Regions from separate parts of the Homo sapiens genome. Here regions 1 and 2 are each linked to region 3. Evidence: promoter capture Hi-C in human tissues and cell types (Jung and others, 2019). All regions are on one chromosome and are shown on one strand. The core of a region is centred on a gene start or on the middle of the fragment in contact, and the rest is flanking DNA. Distances in the headings are between cores, read along the strand shown.

Region 1 (3,470 bases), core at 718-3,217, 43 kb after region 3:
TGGCGCGATCTCGGCTAACTGCAACCTCCACCTCCTGGGTTCAAGCCATTCTCCTGCCTCAGCCTCCCATGTATCTGGGATTATAGGCACCTGCCACCATGCCTGGGTAATTTTTGTATTTTTAATAGAGACAGGGTTTCACCATGTTGGCCAGGCTGGTCTTGACCTCCTGACCTCAGGTGATCAACCTGCCTCAGCCTCCCAAAGTGCTGGGATTACAGGCATGGGCCACTGTGCCCGGCCCTACAGCATCTATTCACACTAAGCTGCTTTATAAACTCTGAGGCAAAAATGAAGGCAGCCTTGAAAGTTGCCACATTTAAGCACAAGGAAGCCTGGAGTAAATCACCTCTAATTCAGGAGCAATTTCATCTGTGAAGGAAAAACTTCAGGAAGAAATTTTGAAAGCTTGAGAAAAGCTTAAAAGGAGGCAAGCATCACATCAACAGATGATGTGTGTTAATTTTAGCTGCAATAGTCTAAAGTGCAGTGTCAAACCAGGAAAGCAGCCAAGCAACACTCAGGCCAGAGACGCTAACTGAGTGCCCATCACCGGCCCCGGTACCAGAGACACTTAGTGAGTGCCCACCACAGGCCGAACAGGCCGGGTGCTGACAATGCAAAACTCATCGAAGTCCAGTCCCTAGCCCCGAGAAGCACCCTACACAGTGAGAGAAGATGGGCAAAATAAACCAACTTCAATACTACAAGGTAAATCCTGTAATCAAGAGCCAAAAAAGTGCTGTGGAGCAGAGTTGAGAGAATCTTGCTGGAATGACCGGTCCCTGGCAGGATAAAGCCAAGGTAGGGTCTTCAGATGATGATGCAAGAGCAAAACAAAGAAAGAGAGCTCCAAGTTGGACCAAGTAAGGACAATTTACTGACAAAAATATCTCAATAATGAAGACTTTATAATAATCCAAGAGAAAATTAAGCCAGAGTTCTTAAGATAAATAGAAGGCTATTAAAGATATATAGAAGATCTAATTATACTGCCTGGATAGGAAAGGGTCTTACTGCTACAGAGTAGAATTAACGTATATTTAATAGATATGAATGCTGTACATTTGACACTTACTATTTAACTTTAAAACAATTAGCCTTTTCAAAAACTCAGTGTTTTTGTTTTTTCCTAGATCTAGAAGCAATAAAATGGGCTTAAGGAACACGGAATAAAGGGAGCAACCCTGTGAAGACCACAAAGGCAGAACAGTGACAGCAGCTCAGCAGCAAGACTGCCGGGCACCGGGCCTGGCTCTCCCACCACCTGACTGGGTAACTTTTCAAACACCTTCATTTCCCAAGAAGTAGGAATGTTGGGAAGACTAAATAAACATATGTCAAGTACTTAATTACCTGCCCACATAGTAAAGTGCTAAATAAATGTTGGACATTGCTTTTGCAATTTCATTTATATTCTACCCATTAAGCAATGTTTAAAATCTGGAATAAAATAGATTATTAAAGAAATATGCAGAGACAATTATCATTGACCCTGATTCCATCTGGAAATCAGGGATGAAGAATCACGGAGAAAAAAAGGTTAAAATTATCTCTGATCAAAATTAAAGTCTATCAAAATCTCAAATGGCAACGAATTCTTGCTGAATGGCCTTGTATGTGAATGCTAATGATTTCTCCATTACTAAGGAAGGGCCCACTTTGCATCTTACTCCATGTTCTCAGTCTCCCAGTGAGACAGGAAAATCCTTTTTTTTTTTTTTTTTTTTACAAATGCTGAAACTAAAGTTCAAAGAGTTTAAGTAAGGTTATGAAAAGTCACTAGGCTATTAGTGACATAGCTTAGTTCTGATATCTGGCTCCAAGACCCATACTTTTTTCCACCAAACTATGGTGCTAAAATTAACAACAGTAATTTCCACTCCACAACACTGTTACTTTGGAATAGGAAGAAAAAGTTGTGTAATTATCTGGTGAGAACAAAACAATGTATGAACCTAGGCCAACTCTATTCTCATATTCTCAGACTCGAGAATTTCTAGAAAAAAATAATAAATGGCAAACCCAAATTTAATTTTAAAATGACAAGAGCCACAAATTGGAAAGACCCTTCACAATGCTCTGGTCACTAAGCTTGGGTGTGGACATGGGTGACAAGCACTCTCCAATTCTAGTGCAGCTTTCCAAAAAGCAATTTGGCAATATGCAGAAAGTGACTAAAGCCAACAGTGCTAAAGGCTAAAGGGAGGATTAAGCCAAAGATGCTCACCAAAAGTGCTATTCAGTATCATTCTAGAAATTACAAGCAAAATATTACAACAGGAAAAAAAGTCATATAAAAATAGAAAAAAGTCATATAAAAATAGAGCCAAAAATCACCCTGATTTGTAAGTAATATAATTTTCCATCTGGAAAACCCAACAGAATCAAATGAAATCAGAACAATTAAGAGTTCAGTAAAATAGGAAAATGTAATTGCTATGATCCAAATGTTGGTGTCCCCCCAAAATTCCTATGTTGGAACCTAATACCAAATGTAATAGCATTACGAGGTGGGGCCTTTGGGAAGTGATTAAGCAAGCCCTCACCAGACAACAAGTCCACTGGTGCCTTGCTCTTGGACTTCTCAGCTCCCAGGATTGTGAGCAACACATTTCTACTGTTTATAAATTACCCAGTCTAAGGTATTTTGTTATAGCAGCCAAACAGACTAAGACAATAAATAGTACACAAAAATAAATTCAGGATGATGAATGAGCCATCTGTTTACCTTATCCCTCTCCCCAAAGTCCCATTAAAATGATCAAACAAGGCCGGGTGCAGTGGCTCACACCTGTAATTCCAGCACTCTGGGAGGCAGAAGTGGCCGGATCACCTGGGGTTGGGAGTTCAAGACCAGCCTGACCAACATGGAGAAACTCCGTCTCCACTAAAAATACAAAAAAAATTAGCCAAGTGTGGTGGTGCATGCCTGTAATCCCAGCTACTCGGGAGGCTGGGGCAGAAGAATCGCTTGAACCCAGGAGGCAGAGGTTGTGGTGAGCCAGGATCGCACCACTGCAATCCAGCCTGGGCAACAAGAGCAAAAGTACGTCTCAAAAAAAAAAAAAAAAAGAAAAAAGAAAAAGAAAAGAAAAGAAAAGAAAAGATCAAACAAATGTAAAAGAACAAAAAAAAATTTTAAAAACCTGTGGAAAACAGAGTGAGGTACCACTGATAAACCCTTCTCAATTTCTAGAAGACATGGAGGAGAAGGGATTCGACTGATAGAAAAGCACCAAGAGCCTTAATTCAGCCAGGCAAATGCAAGCACACCACCCTTGACTACAGGGCTTTAGGCAATGTCTGGCCAACAAACATGTCTATACCAACCCACGGAGGAAAACGGGAGGCTGACCTTGGCAGGCCTTCTTGCACCACATCCACACGGGAGCAAAATAGAAAAGGGGAGCAACACTCCAGTTAACTTTGGATTGCCACACAATTTGCTAATTGAGAAAGGGTATAAA
Region 2 (3,276 bases), core at 712-3,211, 52 kb before region 3:
TTTGGGAGGTCAAGGTGGGCAGATCACGACATCAGGAGATCGAGACCATCCTGGCTAACATGGTGAAACCCCGTTTCTACTAAAAATACAAAAAAATTAGCCGGGTGTGGTGGCAGGCACCTGTAGTCCCAGCTACTAGGGAGGCTGAGGCAGGAGAATGGCATGAACCTGGGAGGTGCAGCTTGCAGTGAGCCGAGATGGCGCCACTGCACTCCAGACTGGGCGACAGAGCGAGACTCCATCTCAAAAAAAAAAAAAAAAAAAAAGAAAGAAAAAGAAAAAAAAAAAAAGAAAAACGAACCAAAACTCAACCATCAAAACATAAATTTTCTCCTGACAAAATAAAAACATGGCAAATTGAAAACAACTTTAATATAAATGTGTTAAAACTTCCAGGCCGGGCGCGGTAGCTCATGCCTGTAATCCCAGCATTTTGGGAGGCCAAGGCGGGCGGATCACAAGGTCAGGAGATCGAGACCCTATTGGCTAACATGGTGAAACCCCCTCTCTACTAACAAAAAATTAGCTGGGCATGGTGGCGGGCACCTGTAGTCCCAGCTACTCAGGAGGCTGAGGCAGGAGAATGGCGTGAACCTGCGAGGCGGAGCTTGCAGTGAGCTGAGATCGCACCACTGCACTCCAGCCTGGGCAACAGAGCAAGACTCTGTCTCAAAAACAAAAAAAAAAGAAAAAAGAAAAAAGAAAAAAAGAAAAAAAAAACTTCCAAAGAGATACACAAGAAAAATAACCAGAAAAAAAAAAATTTTTAGAAACAAAATCAGGCAGTAGTTATGAAAACAAAAACCTATTCAAAATCCTGAAAATGAAATATATGGTCAGTAGATGGGGAGAAACAACACCAAGCACAGTAAACGAGAGAATTAGTAAATTAAATTCACTCTGTGTATAGAATAGAGATAAAACACTTCTCTCTATGAGAAGTGAAGTAACATAACAGGTAGAGTGAAAAGAAACACATCTAGTAGGATTTCCAGAAATAAAGCTAGAAGGAGTGGTGGGGAGGCAATACTAGAACTAACGCTAAAAATGTGCCATAATTGAAGACTTGAATCTCAATTCTGAAAGCTCGCAATGAGTGCCAAGCAGAGACTGGATAAAAACAAATCTAGGGGCTGGGCGCGGTGGCTCACGCCTGTAATCCCAGCACTTTGGGAGGCCGAGGCAGGTGGATCACAAGGTCAGGAGATCGAGACCATCCTGACTAACATGGTGAAACCCCATCTCTACTAAAAATACAAAAAATTAGCCAGGCGTGGTGGCGGGCGCCTGTAGTCCCACAACTCGGAAGGCTGAGTCAGGAGAATGGCGTCAACCTGGGAGGCAGAGCTTGCAGTGAGCCAAGATCACGCCACTGCACTCCAGCCTGGGTGACAGAATGAGACTCCGTCTTAAAAAACAAACAAACAAACAAAAAACAAATCTAGGTAGATTGCTGTGAGGCTGCAAAACATTAAGGATAAAGAGAAAACCTTGAAAACTAGCAGACTGAAAAAACAGTTAAAAGGGAATGATAATTAGACTGGCAGCAGACTTCTTAACAGTAACAATGAATAACAGAAGGCAATAACATCATATTTTCAAAGTTCTAAGACAAAACCAGCTAACCCAGAATTCCAAACCCAGGAAGAGTAAAGATGAAACAAAAGATATTTCTGAAATACAAAGACTAGGTTTACCTTCTATAGATAGTTACTCTAAGAACTACTAGAAAATACATGCTTCAATAAAAATAATAAAAACCCAAAGGGAAAGAAGGTGATACAGTAAGCTAAGACAGAATAAAGGACTTGTTTTAGGTTTCTTAATTCATGGCTGAGACCAAAGGAACCTTGGCATGTTGACTCCCAAGTTAGTACTCTTTCCTCTAAACTAACTCTCTGCATCTTCATCTTCATTTTCACACTTCCATATTTTAACTTCTAGTTAGATATAAAACTACACTTGACAGTTCCTAAATATTATACAATATTTTTCATAGCATTCAAATTATTTTTTTAAATTTAAAAACTTCCTTGAAGTGTGATTAGAATAAGGAAGAGATCCAAGAGAAGTCATTTTATTGACTGTACCTTTCTTTGGTCAAATTACCTGGCTCTCAGTGATACGTTCTATTTCCTCCATATTTAACACAAAATTGTGGGTTTTTTTAATTTATTTTGAAAGGTAAAGTGTTGATAAATAATTCATAATTGTCTTTGGTTTACATCTAAATAAAGAGAAATTCTGTGCATCTCTAAACAAAACTAAATTTTTCTTTTCATATGACATTATTTCACTATTTTAATATGTATTTATGAAAGTAAGATTTTGCAAATGGCAACTGTATGCATACACTTAATTAAAAGAAAAAAAAAACACGCGGCCTTGCGCGGTGGCTCACGCCTGTAATCCCAGCACTTTGGGAGGCCGGGGGGGTGGATCACCTGAGGTCAGGAGTTCAGGACCAGCCTGGCCAACAGGGCAAAACCCCATTTCTACTAAAAATACAAAAAAAATAGCCCGGCGTAGTGATGCGTGCCTGTAGTCCCAGCTACTCAGGAGGCTAAGGCAGGAGAATCACTTGAACCCAGGAGGCAGAGGTTGCAGTGAGCCAAGATCGTGCCACTGCACTCCAGCCTGGGCGACACAGTGAGACTCCGCCTCAAAAGAAAACAAACAAAAACAAAAAAAATGTGACTATCATACCTTCAACTTACATGGAAATAGGCAGCAAAATGACAGTTGAAAAAAATCTAGTTGGTACTCTAAGTGAATAAAAAAATAGATGCCTTAACCCTCAAAGATGTAACAGTGATTTATACACAAATGTTAGTTCCCTTGCTGCGATCTGTGATATGTTAACACATTCCCCAATAAAGTCATCTCAACCTCCACATCTGGATCCCAGAGCAATTATCTGCCTATTTTTAAGCATTGTAAATTATTGTAACACTGTACACACAGCCAGCAAGAGAAGGTTCTATAGTTTTTTATGTGATAGAACAGGGAATAAAGGAAGTATTAGCTCTAAACAGTGAATAGCTGGACAATACTCCCTGGCCCTAATACAAAGACTGTGACTTTTTTTTTTTTTTTTTTTTTTGAGATGGAGTCTCGCTCTGTCCCCCCAGGCTAGAGTGCAGACGCGCAATCTTGGCTCACTGCAAACTCCGCCTCCCGGGTTCAAGCGCTTCTCCTGCCTTAGCCTCCCGAGTAGCTGGGATTACAGGCACCTGCCACTGCACCCGGCTAATTTTTGTATTTTTTTAGTAGAGA
Region 3 (3,539 bases), core at 546-3,045:
GTGGCCCCGGAGGTTGAAATTTATCCTCTGTGGAGTACTCCTGTCCCTGCGACAGTGACTAGAGGTGAAAGTCACCCCAACCACTCCTCGCCCGTTGCCCGTGGCCAGCCAGCCTTCCTCATAGTAGCGTCTCCTGCACACAGGCTTCTCCTTCTCACTCTTGGGGACACGCCCCTTCCAGGACAGGCACAGGATGTTGGAATCGCTGCAAAGCACAGGCCCATGTTCCACTGCTGCATACATACTTTCTTCAATGAACTGTTTTACTTAAAAAGTAATGTTAATGCTGTGAAATTTAAACCAATTTCTTTCATTGGTATATGTGTTTTTGTGGTTGGCTTGCGTTGCTTTTTTCCCCCTTTAATTAAGACTGACCTGAATCTAATTAGAAGGTCAGTATTTTATAAAGATCCACCGAATGCATAGTGAAAAAATTCCTCTATAAAAGATGATGGCAGTCTTCTAAGAAAAGGTAATGCTTAAAAAAACATGGGGTCCATTTGTATTTTCAAGTTCTCAGAGGAAGAACGTGCTGATCCTTTGGAGAAAGAGCATCGTTAATTAAGTGGTGATCAAGAAACGGTTTTCTTCTTTTTACTCCACTTGGTTATTCTCATTCAGCCTGAGATTCCAGTTTAGTGTAATATGATTCCAGAGACAAAGGGTTGCAAATACATAGATTTCAAGTAACTTAAGGCTTTAAGAATCCCTCTAGCTCGAATTTTTCTCTTCAAAAGTTCGGATGCAGAGACAGAATACACAGGATCATCTTCCTTCTGAAGCCACCCTCTAGCATGTTTCCTGAACTAGACAAATTTCTGCTGCTAAAGCTGAAAAAGATTGCATAAAGGGAAAAAAAGGCACACAAACCGTGCAAAACAGACCAGAGTTTGTGCAGACAAGAGTCCAAATTTTAGGAAGAAAAACAGACTCTCTCCTTGTTGTTTCAGAACCAGAAACTTTCCACCTCAAAGCTTGGCCCTGTGTCCCCGGGGAACGCAGGGCTCCATCGGACTGCTCCTCCACCAGCCGGCGCACCCCTCAGTGCCATAGAGGCTAGAAAGAAGGCCCCTTCACTCAAGAGGCAGAATGTTCCAGCGCTCTTACAGTGGTCCCAGTGTTTGCCCTGGGTGAGTCTTAAATCCTCTTGCTGACAAAACAGAGCCACGTGGCAAGATTTTGTTTCTTTTGCTCGTCTCCCTTCTCGCTCCCCCAGTTAGCACTCCCCTTTTCTGCTCCTAAAGATCTTTTTCCATCTTGATGAAAAAAGCTAATCTTAGAATTAAGTCCATCAGGTAATCTTCTCATACGCAAGTCTTCTTGGACTTGACAGGGAAGTTAATCCCTTAAAACAAAAGCAGAAGCCAGAGTCAGATTCCCCCAGCTGTCTCCCTAGAGAGTGATAGTGTTTTGCTGATGGGTGCTTTCCTGTTCACATTCAGAGACTGTCTCCAAACACCACACCACTAGTCCAACAAAAAGAAAGCTTTGCTTGGATTTTCCTTGATATTTATTTAATAATTATTGGTTTCAATTGCTATTTTACAATATTATCCTATAGATGCAGGAAAAAAGGGGGGGAATAATAAATTAAAATTTCTCAAATACAGTTAATTAAGATAGGCAAAGGAATCAGTTCATTATTCAAACTTGTCCCATCATACTTGAACTTGCTTTCCTCTAGCCATAACCACAGTAGGAGTTACTTTTCAGTCTAGAATTTTAATCCGTCCAAATCACCAAACCCACTGAAAAATAAAGTGCAACAAACACTGTGTGAGCCGCTGCAATGTTTGAAATCACACTTCTTTCTCAGTCACCTTCTCACTTAGTTCCTTCTTTAAACTGGAGAATATTTTTGTGGTTTAATCTGCGCAAATTTTTTTTTCTTCTTTTTGCAGACTTTCTTTACCCGTGCAGACCATATGGAAAACTGGCCATTAGTGATGTATTTTTCTCCCCGGGCTCCTGAGCCCACTGGTGTCAAGTTGCTCCATCTGATTCTTAAATTAATTTTCATCAGTTGTAAAACTCTCAAGTGTGCACAAGAATGAGCCTGTCTTCCCGTGTGAATGTGTAAGTACAGAAAGAAGGTTTTAAATGCACATAGACACACACTCTTCAACTGCCATACGAAGCGTCTGCTTCCCCAGTCATTTCAGGAACCATCAGATTATTCACGGCTGGGAGGCCCTGGAGTCTTACAAATCTGTTTAAAAAAAAAAAAAGATATAAAATTTAAAAACTTTAAAACACTGGAAAATAAAGGTTTTAAGAATAATTGCTGAAACTGAAATGAGAGACCCATCTTTACACTTACATCAAATGGAGCTACTGACTGCACTGAATGGTAAAATCCAATAGTGAAAGGATACACCTCACCAGACTCAAGACAACACACAACAAATGAGAGTTCTGCCTGCCACTGATCGTTGTATTCAATTTGTCAGCAGCTGGGCACATCTGAATGAAATCATAACTGCCATTCTTCCACACTGAACTGTACTTTCTAAGAGACTGAACTCCGAATGTGAGACTCTACCCCTCCAGAGACCATGGTCGCTGTTTAAGCAGGCATCCTCAAAAAGGAGACTGAAATGACTCAGGCAAGTTATCTGGATTGATTTTTTCACGATTAATAAAAGATATTCCCTCAAGACACAAAGCAGTAAGGGCCTTTAAAACTCATTCGTCCCTGATGGCTGGCAGGTCTCGGAGCAAAGCGCAGCTGTTTTCTAAGCTTTTATGTGGTCTACCAGCAATAAAGTTCTAGAGAATCTGTCTCTAGCAAATCCATTCCATCTTCTTCCTACTGCCTGAAGTCCAGGCTGCATCACATCCTCTACAAACACGAGAACACTCTGTCCCTAACTTACTCATCCTCCCTGCCCTCCCGCCCCGCCAGTCCTTCCAGAAAGCAGAGTGGACTTTCTCAAATTCAGCAGACTCTCTCAGTCTCCTGGGGCAGCTGAAGCGGCCCAGCCCCATCCCACAGGAACTGGACACTGAAAGGGAAGGGAAGGGCCCAGGTGTTCGCATTTCTAATAAGCTCCCAAGAGATGCTAATGCTGCTGGGCAGGGAACCAGGCTTTGAGAACTACTGGCCTGTAGCATCAAGTCCCAGCAAAAGACTCTACTTTCATCATAATACTAGGACATAATTTGCCTTCTTCCGTGTTCACATTTGTACCCATGGTGCAAAATCAACAGTGGGTCAAACTGCAAGCTCTTTAACACTAATCAAGGTAGAGGTACCAACTGCACCAGTAGTCATAGATTAAAAAAAAGAAAGAAAAAAAAAGCCAGCCTCACTTAAGAACATCTTTGATACGGCAGTAAAAATTATTAATTTTATTAAATATCAGCCCTTGAGTACATGGTTTTTAATACCCTTGTGTCCCAAAATAGTAGGTACACATAAAGTACTTCTGTGGACTACTGAAGCACCATGGTAGTCCCAGGAAAAAGCATGTATTATACAGTTTAAGTTGCAAAATGAACTGCTTGCTTTTTTCATGGAATACCATGTGACATGGTTT

What was found. The method cuts DNA at HindIII sites, captures the fragments that hold promoters and counts their contacts. A contact is called where the count stands out against the background at its distance.
Region 1: a contact is called between a fragment that was not itself captured here and the fragment with the promoter of TULP4 in region 3, in 2 of the 25 tissues and cell types used here (dorsolateral prefrontal cortex and hippocampus).
Region 2: a contact is called between a fragment that was not itself captured here and the fragment with the promoter of TULP4 in region 3, in 3 of the 25 tissues and cell types used here (H1 embryonic stem cells, dorsolateral prefrontal cortex and neural progenitor cells).

Annotation. Positions count from the first base shown.
Region 1 is chr6:158,267,641-158,271,110 of GRCh38, reverse strand. It overlaps a transcript of TULP4 not described here. Among named protein-coding and RNA genes, the nearest start is that of TULP4, 43 kb to the left of the region's middle. The HindIII fragment of the contact is 3,105 bases long and covers 415-3,470 here.
Region 2 is chr6:158,362,890-158,366,165 of GRCh38, reverse strand. All of the region lies in intron 1 of TULP4 (TUB like protein 4), which reads right to left. Among named protein-coding and RNA genes, the nearest start is that of SNORA116, 42 kb to the right of the region's middle. The HindIII fragment of the contact is 4,819 bases long and covers 1-3,276 here.
Region 3 is chr6:158,310,721-158,314,259 of GRCh38, reverse strand. TULP4 (TUB like protein 4) reads right to left here and starts at 1,795. Exons shown (of 14, transcript NM_020245.5): 1 at 1-1,795. The coding sequence starts at 243. RefSeq lists an enhancer at 92-171. The HindIII fragment of the contact is 2,154 bases long and covers 1,231-3,384 here.